Linked DNA regions of Homo sapiens: region 1 is linked to region 2. The links are contacts of gene promoters, found by promoter capture Hi-C in human tissues and cell types (Jung and others, 2019). All regions are on one chromosome and are shown on one strand. The core of a region is centred on a gene start or on the middle of the fragment in contact, and the rest is flanking DNA. Distances in the headings are between cores, read along the strand shown. Region 1 overlaps STK32A (serine/threonine kinase 32A). Region 2 holds the start of DPYSL3 (dihydropyrimidinase like 3).

Region 1 (4,867 bases), core at 2,053-4,552, 140 kb after region 2:
TTCTAGATTTTACTAATTGAGATAAAAGATTTTTGCCCCCTTAACCATTCCTGAGCCAACATCACAGCAATTGTGTGGCTCAAATAGGCATTGTCAGTCCCACTTGAGAATGCTTCTGAAGATGACAACCATGCAACCTCAGGGTGTAATTTGTGGAGTGAAGCAGGGCTGTCTTGGAACTAAGCAGAATTTGCTTATGAAAAATGATCCCCCATTCTATGTCTTTGACATTACTGATGCAATGTCCCTATTCCAAAATAAGGAACTTGACTCCAAAAACAAGAGACACAAATGATGACTCCTTAGCCACTAAAGCTATTTTCCATTACCAGCCACAACTGGTGCAATTTTCTCCTCAAAAAAAAAAAAAAAAAAAAAAAAAAAAAAGGCCAAGCCCATTCCTCTTGGGCCCCTCATTCTTGTTTTGTATCATCACTCAATATACACTTTTGACCTCCCGCTATAACTGTTCTTCATCTGTTTGATGAAGATGGGTACCTTGAAAATCTGATGAAAGCTGTGGACCTCATTTATTTGAATACTTGTCAAATTTCACTTCTCAGGCTTTGTGTTAGATGCTGAGAATACAATGGTAACACATGTCAGACATGGTCCCTACCCTCATGAAGCTAAGAAGAAAATGGTACGTAACCAAGGATCACACAAATGCTGGGTATAATTTTAAACTGAAAAATGCTATGAAGGAAAGATAGTGTTATGTGAACTTACACCAAGAAGGTGATATTTGAGCTAAGAGCTAAAGTTGTGCTTCCCAAACTATGTAGAAGGGTCAGTTATTTTTGTTTGTTTTTGTCTGTTTCAATTTCCAATCCACTGAAATCAGTATGTGGTCTTATTATGCATTGCCAGTATGCAGCACCCCACATAGACACCTTGTGACTTGAGTTCAACAACCGTCAAACAAGCTTGGACCCTCTTCAATAAGATAAGTCCATTGATCATGTGTTTAGATGCTACAGCAGTGTCCAATTGCTATAAAAGTTTCTAAATGCTTCTCTCAAGTTCTTTACTTACAATAGACCTGCAGAAAAAATTCATGGACTAGAACCAGTGAACCACATTGAGTAGTACTGCTCTCAAGGAGGAACTGGAGGAACTAGGATTGGAGGCACTGTTCCAGGAATAGGTACTGGCATGTGCAAAGGTCCTGTGGTGAGAGGAAGACTGGTATGTAAAAGTGAAGAAGGAGAAAAGAAAGAAAAGAAGAAGAAAAAGGCCAAAGCAGTTTATGTGTAGTCAAAGGGGGGACAAAAGTCCAAAAGTCCAAAACAAGGCTTGAGAGGTATTTTGAACTTTTGTACCACAAAATTATTTTAATCTTTATTCTAAGAATAAGGAAAATATCCTGGACTGTCCTTTAACAGACCACTGTGGGGCTGCATGGGGAATAGAATGGAGTGGTAAAAGTGTATGTGGACAAACCCGTTATAAGGCTAGACTGATGGCAGTTGGATCAGGGAAATAGTAGTGAGGACAGAGAGAAGTGAAATATTTTAATACTTAAAATATAAAATTTCAGAACCTGGTGATGAATTGAATACGCAGATGACAAATGAGTCCTGGTTGCTGGCTGGCGTAAGTGGATTTGGATAGAGAAGCCAGTCACTGAGAGAATTTCCTGAGAAGATATTCAGGAAAGACAAAGATAAAGAAGTCCTTTGAGTTTAAGATGGCTTTGGGACATCCAAGGGGAATCTGAGTTGAGTTAATGAAGCCATGTATTTGAAAGCTAACAGCTAGAAAATACACTCTACAAATGTATACTATCATGACTGTCCCCAATATTGTATACTAACTTCTAAACTTAAGCCAGAGAGCCTGCTTCCTTTTGTTACTTCGTTTGGACATGCAGTCTTCCTTCTTACCTTTTTAAGAAGTGACACCATTTCCTGTGACCAGGCAGAAGGGTAAGTTACAACAGTCGTCTCAAACGTGTGTACAATTTCCTTGCTGGAAGTACTGGAGCGAATATGATACGGTCTCTTAAGGGAGAAAAGAAGTAAAAGTCTTCATTTGTATAGGACAAAAGAAAAAAAAAATTTCCAAATGTTTCCAAGCTAAACTTTCAACCGATAAAATATCTATATCAATTTCTAACCCTGTCCAGCTGACTCTTGCGTTGCCATATGTGTAGGTGGTCCTGTGTTGCCAGACCCCCTACTTTTTCTTAAAGAGACACTAGGAATTTATGGTCGCTTCTAAAATACCATAAATTTTAAAGTTGAACACTCCACTGAGCCAAACAAAACATTCAAGTGGACTGAATCAGCCTCTGAGATGCTGATTTGAAATTGTTTTATAAGGTATTATATAAGTATTAACACGAAATACTGGACAAGTCCTCAATAAATGGAAGTCTAAAAAATTATTATGTAAGGGTTGATTGCAAGTAAATCCAGAATTTTACCATACCATCCCTTTCACTGCAACATAATGAGGAAGCTCAGGACAGAAAACTGCTCAGAAAACATCAACTCCAGTCCCACAAATGCTATGAGTCCCTGGTTCCACAGAGTATGGCAGGGTGGAGAATTTTGTGATGAGGCAGAAGCTTTTAAAAAAAATTTTGGGGGAAGAACCAGGTTCTTCTACAGTTTTAATTTTGAAGAAAAGTAATTTAAAAAGAAAAGAAATTAAACAAAAGAAAACTGTGGATTAGCTGTAGTTTTCACAGCTTTACACTAGAGGACAGCCTTTATCTATATTATTTTGTAGGGGACTCACCAACACTGAAATTTCATGTCTCTTATGTGAACTGTAAGATACTCACAGCCAGAGATTATATCATTCTTGTTCATGAGACCAAGCATTCAGTAGGTGCACAATACATGTTTATTTAATGAACAAAATTTCCATATTCGATTAACTAGCCACAGCACAGTTAATATGGATATACACATTGATCACATGCCTGGCCCTTTTAAGATATTTAATAAATGACTGTTGATGGATGACCTAAATTGGGGGAAATGAAAGGGTTTAAGTTTTTCCCTGTAGTAAATCAGTGTTAAGAGGTAATATAAAATAATCATGTGTTTGAGGTTAAAAGGATTTGGTGCTAAACTTCTCCACTCAATTTCTGAGCTTGTTACTTCATCTGTAAAATGAGCTACCTCATGAGATTGCTGGAAAAATTAAAGGAGATAATATGTGTAAATTTCTCAACAGAGTGAGTGGCTAATAGTATTAGACACAATATAAGAGAGAGATTTTTATCATTATTGACACAAAGGTAAAAATGGGCATATGTAAATGTGAATGAATAGTGAACAGCAAAATGAGTCCTCAAGAAAAGTGATGGGAAGAAAAGCTTAATTTTACACATGGCAAGTCAATGTCAGCTATTCATGGAACCATGAAGTGCCAGGAGGTGGCCCTTGAAAGGGAGATTAATTCAAACATTTTTGCTTTTTAAGTAAGATCTAAAAACAACTGCCATATTTACCCCCTCAACACTAAATAAAGGACCATAGCTATATCATATGTCTTGGTAATTATATAGTAGAAATAACTCATTAACTCAATATCAGTAAAGGAGTGCTAGATGCTTTATCACCATTATCAATGTTTATTGGTAATTTAGTAGCCAAAGGGTTAGGTTACTCCATATGATTCAGACCATGTTTATCATTAAGAATCAGATTAGGCTTAGTATACTCAAGCTTCTAGGCTTATATGTGTATGCACATGTGTTTTTACTTTTTTCTGTGTTTCTTCTTGATTTTAATTCATTGCTGCTTCTCAACCTACTGTTTCTGGGCCACCTAGAAAATAAAATGATTTTATAAACAAATGAATTAACTGATGAATGCCACAAGCAGCTGGTTTAAGTGTGTACATTTTTCTCTAGTTACTTTACAAGGCCATATGACTGAATTTAATTTTTAAAATCTCCATGACCTGTTGGTTTATTAAAAAATAATCACATTGTCTTTATCTTATTTTTTAATTTACTTTTACAGTTCTAAATTTTAAAATTAATTTGAATTAATCAACTACCAGAATTGTATATTTATTTATTTACCAATTATTTATTGAATGCCTACCATGTTCCAGCACCTTTCTTAGGCATTGAGGGTACAATGAAGAACAAGACACATATGGTTTCTATGTTGGTGGGGCCTACAGTCTACTTAAGGAAGCATGTAAATTTATTATATAGACTGTATACACACACACACACACACTTAAATAAATGGGATACATGCTATAGAGAAAAATTACAGTATGCAGTCACAGTATATATCATAAAAGCCTAAGGCAGCATCTAAACTAACAGTGAGCATATAGAGAATAAACAAAGTGGAAAAGGTGAAATGTTATAAGGGAACAAATGATGTGTTGTGAATATGGTTGTATTTCAGAAGTGCAAAGGCAAAAGAATTGCAGCTAAGCATGTACAATGAGTACAAAACTATGTACACATCTATCCTAAGTTAACACTTTTGGATAATATGAAACTATAAAAGATGTGGACCTTTGCCTTTGCAATGGCAATGAGATAGTAGGGAGTTAGAGAGATGACAAAGCAGATTAATAGTTAAGGGACACATTCATTAAGACTGAAACCAAACTCAGAAATGATGAGAATGTTTTCGAGCACATTTTCTCATTAAGACATATACTTTTCTGTAAATAAAAATTTGTACGTATGGAGGAAATTGTTTAGCACACTTCCTCTGTGCTTGAGTTGTATTGATGCTTGTAATTAAATGTTACTTCCTTTTCTTCAGATAAGCTACATTTTGAAACGTAATTGCAGGTAGCATAGTTGGTCATTTTTTCCTAGAAGGTGTCTAAGTGATTTGTTTCTCCATTCATTCAATAACTGTCAGGCCTCTGAGCC
Region 2 (4,764 bases), core at 1,161-3,660:
CCATGGGCTGTGATCGGGCCACTGCACTCCTGCCTTTCCCATCTGTCTCAAATGGGAGATGCTGTCTCAAACAAAAAGAAATGCTAGTACCAGACAGGTAAGGTTATTAAGATTAATTAAGATACTGCCTGGATGTCCTTAGCGCAGAGCCTGAAACTAATAAAACCTGGATAACCCTTAACTGTAATTGTTCTGAAGCAGCACTCACAGGAAATTCTGAGTCCATCACCAACCAGCATTTGTTAAGAAGGAGCAGCTGCCCAAAGGAAGTCAGCTTAAGAAGTCATAAATAATTCTGATAGAGCACAGGCAGTTTAGCAAGTGGCTTTCTCTTCACTGGGGATTGGGTTGTTGTTGTTGTTGTTGTTTTGTGTGGAATTTTGCTCTGTCGCCTAGGCTTGAGCCCAGTGCCGCAATCTCTGCTCACTGCAACCTCCACCTCCTGAGTTCAAGCAATTCTCCTGCCTCAGCCTCCTCCCAAGTAGGTGGGACTACAGGCGGGTGCCACCACGCCCGGCTATTTTTTACATTTTTAGTAGAGATTGGGTTTCACCATGTTGGCCAGGCTGATCTTGAACTCCTGACCTGAGGTGATCTACCTGCTTCAGCCTCCCAAAGTGTTGGGATTACAGGTGTGAGCCACTGCGCCTGGCCAGGGGATAGGTTTAAATTGTGTCAACATACCTGTCTTTGATCTAAGTTCAGGCCAACTTCCATTCCTCAATATTTTGTGGCTGTCACAGACCTGAGACTGACATTCCAGTTTCCGGAGCCTTTGTTCCACTCCAAAATCAGAGTTCAAAGGTTAATTTCATCAAATTCTATGTGGATGCCTTCAAAGAGTATGTCTATGCGCACAAAGAAGCCGGCCATATGCTTATGAGCATTAAATGAGTTAATATATGTGAAACAATTATAATAATGACTGGCACATAGCAATAACTCCATAAACATTTTCTGGTGCTGCTGTCGTTGTTATTGTTATCCTCCATTTGTTCAAAAAGAATGTATCAAGTGCCTGTAGATGTTCTGGGCACAAGATATACAAAGGTGAACTGAACAGACCAGATCTCTGCCTTTATGGAGCTTAGCATGTATGTGTCCATACTTGGGAGGGGGAGTGTTTAGTTCACAAAATAAACAAAGTTCTGTAAGTTGAGCAGAACAGTGAACGGCTGTGCTACCTAGATGGGTGGTAATAGACTACATTCTTGGTGAGGACAGGCCGATCTCTCTTGTTCGACACTGTTGCTCCAGCATCTTGTGAAAGCCATAGTGGGTACCTGATTTATGTTGGTTGACTAAATAAATAAATGGGTGACTTTCTGAGAGGGAGCACAGTTAAATCCGGCACAACAGGTTTTGGGTTTAGGTGGTGTGTGCAGATATGATGTAAGGTATGTAGTTTGCAGGTTCTGTTTATGTGGCAGAGTCGGCGTCAGAGTATACGTGGGTGGACGTGGGGAAGAGAATGAGGTTATGAAAGCACAGATGTACATAAGTAAAGTCTGCATACATCTGAGGTAACATGAAAAGCAAAGTCTTTGGTTGTGTGATTTTTGAAGTAAATCTGGGCTTAGGTGTGAATCTAAGTGTCGGTTCCGACTGAGGTAAACCTGGACTTGTGTCAGTGTGTGAGATTAAAATCTGGGGTTTGTTGTATGAGGGACAGAGCATCAATGAAGAGTGCTTTGCAAGGCAAAACCTAAGAATGTGTGTGTGTGTGTGTGTGTGTGTGTGTGATCTGAAATGAGGCAAATTAGGGGTGGTAAAAAGCAAACTAGGATATTATATAGAAGCTAAGAAAGGGCTTATGTGAGCCAAAGGGCTTTTGTGACTCTCAATGAAGTAAGAGGGCTTCTCTCTCAGTGTGTGTTTGTGTTGTGTGTGTAAGCCAATTCAGGACTTCATGTGAGAGTGTGGGTTTGCAAGGCAGATTCTAGAACTGGGTGTAGTTATGAGTGTCATCCTAAAGATCAGGATGAGGCAAGTCCGGGGTTCCGGGTAGGATTGTGAGTCTGTCGTAAATTTGAGTTTGTATGTGTTAGTTGTAAATCAGGACTTGGCTTTGAGATGAATCCACCTGGGTCAGCTGGGTTTTTGTGCACGAGGGACGTCAGAAAGCTTTGTGTTTGTGAGGCAAACTAGGGAGTTAGTGTGGGTGAAGCAGTCAAGTGCTGGAGTGTGAACATTTCTAAGACGTCTAAATTGCGCGAAAGTGTGTGAGGCAAGGCTGTTGCGCGAGCGGGCAGTGTGCGCCTGTGTGTGCGTGTGCGCGCGCGCCAAGTTTGGTTTGTGATTGTGATGGGCACCGACGCTGCGTCAGCCCGGGAGGCCACGTTAGGGTTGGGGGTGCGTGAGGAGGTGCGGCCGGGCGAGAGGTCCAGCGAGTGAGCCAAGCGCGGCGCTACTCTGGGCCCCTGCTCCGCGCGCTAGCTGGCTGTGTGGCTCGCTGGCTCGCTAGGGACAAGCAGGAATCGGAGCAGCACTGCCGCCTCTGGCGCGAAGGCTCAGGCGCCTCCTCCCGCCACAGTCACTGTGGCTCGGCGCACGCTGCCGGCGGCTGCCCTTTCCGCCTCTGGGGAAGAAAAACCCGCGGGCCGCTTTCGTGCTTGAACCATGGCCTCGGGCCGGAGGGGCTGGGACAGCTCCCACGAAGACGATCTGCCCGTGTACCTGGCCAGGCCGGGCACCACGGACCAGGTCCCGCGGCAGAAATACGGCGGCATGTTCTGCAACGTGGAGGGCGCCTTCGAGAGCAAGACGCTGGATTTCGATGCCCTCAGCGTGGGGCAGCGGGGCGCGAAGACTCCTCGGAGCGGCCAGGGCAGCGACCGAGGATCGGGGAGTCGGCCCGGGATCGAGGGGGACACCCCGCGCAGGGGCCAAGGCCGGGAAGAGAGCAGGGAGCCCGCGCCCGCCTCCCCCGCCCCCGCCGGGGTAGAGATCCGGAGCGCCACCGGCAAAGAGGTGTTGCAGAACCTCGGCCCCAAGGACAAGGTAAGGGGGCCCCGGGTCACTTCCCTCCTTGCCTTCGTTCCTTTCTCCAGCCCTGGCCGCCATGGCCCGGGCACAACTTTCTCCAGCTCACTTTGCACGGGGCTGGGGGACAAGGAGGAGGAAAGGGTCATCCTCCACTGAGCGTAGCGCGACTTCCTAGCCCAGACCCTGGATTCGCGCGTGTCGCCACTTGCAGCATCTTCGTGCAAGCGCGGAAGGGATGCCCGGGTTCCCCTGCCTGGAGCCGCGTCCTTTGCCCCTGCCTCCTCGCCGCACTCCTGGGCCATCCGGTCTGGGTGGGTGTGTCAGCCCGGGAAGGCTTAGTGATTTCCAGCTCTTCTCTCTAGTAGCCAACAGCACAATTGTCTTGCCCCCCTCTGGCCCTAGATTAAATCTCAACCCGGGTCACCACGGCAGAGGGCAAAGTGATGCTGGGAATATGGGGGTCATCTCCATAGTGCCCGGATGAAAGTACTGGAGGGGCGGTCTCCCCTCTCAGTCTTCAAACATCAGCTCTGTCCCTGAAACTTTTGGGTGTGGAGCCTCTAGACTAAACACGCGAATCTCTCTCTATGCCTCGCTTGTGTCTTAGCACGGCATTTCACATCTGTGTTTGTAAAGAGTGTATTTGTGTACATAGCTTGGCACAAGACTGGGTATTACAGGGGTCCAGCTGCCTCTGCAAGAATAGCATTATATTTTAGAAAATAGACGAGAGTATTAAGAGTGCACATTAAACTAGCATGAGATGCAAATTCCCTGCTGCTCTTAAATGTGCCAAAGCCAATTTCTTCTGTATGTGTATTTTTGAGAAACTTATGTCACACTGAACTGACTGAAGGGATGGCATTGAAATCTAGCTTGCCCTGATTTATGTGTCTATTTCACAGAGACTCAGAGATGTAGTTCAGAAAATGCAGGGCCTGGCAGGGCTGGAGACTTCAGAGTTCAAACTGAAGCTTTCAGTTGGGGAATAATAATAATCAGATGCCCTCACCCTTGTCTAGGTAATGGCCGCAAAATCCATCCGCATGTATTATTCTGCACTAATATGGTTAGGAATAACAACCTGAAATGGAAATGTCTGCCTCAGAGCAATTACAGTTAATGCTTATTCAGGTTTTAGTTGTTTTTCCATTAAAATGCAATGAGCTAGTGAAAGAACAGCATCTCTGTTCACTGTTTGATTTTTGAAAGTTTAGACAAACCAACCAACCAACCTTTGACTACTAAGACCACCAGGGAAAATAAGTGCTGAAGTTAGTGCTGTTCAAGGGTACCACTTGGAAAACAATGTCGGCTTCCTCTGAAATCATTCATTTAGTTTGTGATTTTCACATCATCCTTTTAGTGCGTGATTCCCCTAAGCCCTTGCTTACCAACGTTTTAGGGAAAACTTCTGATATTTTGCAAATGTTTTGGTTGATATCTAAACTGAAGAAGAACCCTATAGAAAGGTTATTCCTTTCTTCATGTCTGACTTGTCCATATTGAAATGTTCCCTTCCTGACTGGAACGGGCGGGAGTAGTGATGGAAAAGGTCGGTAACAATTGCTGTGAGTCAGTGCTATTCCCTTTGCTGAAACACCCCTGATGTAAGCCAGATAATATGCTGGGTTTGCAAGATTTAAGAATGGTAACTAGAGAAAGGGAAAATATTCCTCCTTTAAACCTAGCAATTCTCCCGTTTTCCTCCCTTTTGCAAACCCTATACTTTTGGCTACTAATTGAGAAATAATAATACAACCTAGGCATCAGCAGGAT

The links. The method cuts DNA at HindIII sites, captures the fragments that hold promoters and counts their contacts. A contact is called where the count stands out against the background at its distance.
Region 1: a contact is called between a fragment that was not itself captured here and the fragment with the promoter of DPYSL3 in region 2, in 2 of the 25 tissues and cell types used here (IMR-90 fibroblasts and mesenchymal stem cells).

What each region holds. Positions count from the first base shown.
Region 1 is chr5:147,367,790-147,372,656 of GRCh38, reverse strand. STK32A (serine/threonine kinase 32A) reads right to left here. Exons shown (of 13, transcript NM_001112724.2): 9 at 1,887-2,003. Among named protein-coding and RNA genes, the nearest start is that of STK32A, 140 kb to the right of the region's middle. The HindIII fragment of the contact is 3,105 bases long and covers 1,750-4,854 here.
Region 2 is chr5:147,507,714-147,512,477 of GRCh38, reverse strand. It overlaps DPYSL3 (dihydropyrimidinase like 3), which reads left to right and starts at 2,410. Exons shown (of 14, transcript NM_001197294.2): 1 at 2,410-3,000. The coding sequence starts at 2,620. The HindIII fragment of the contact is 5,398 bases long and covers 1-4,764 here.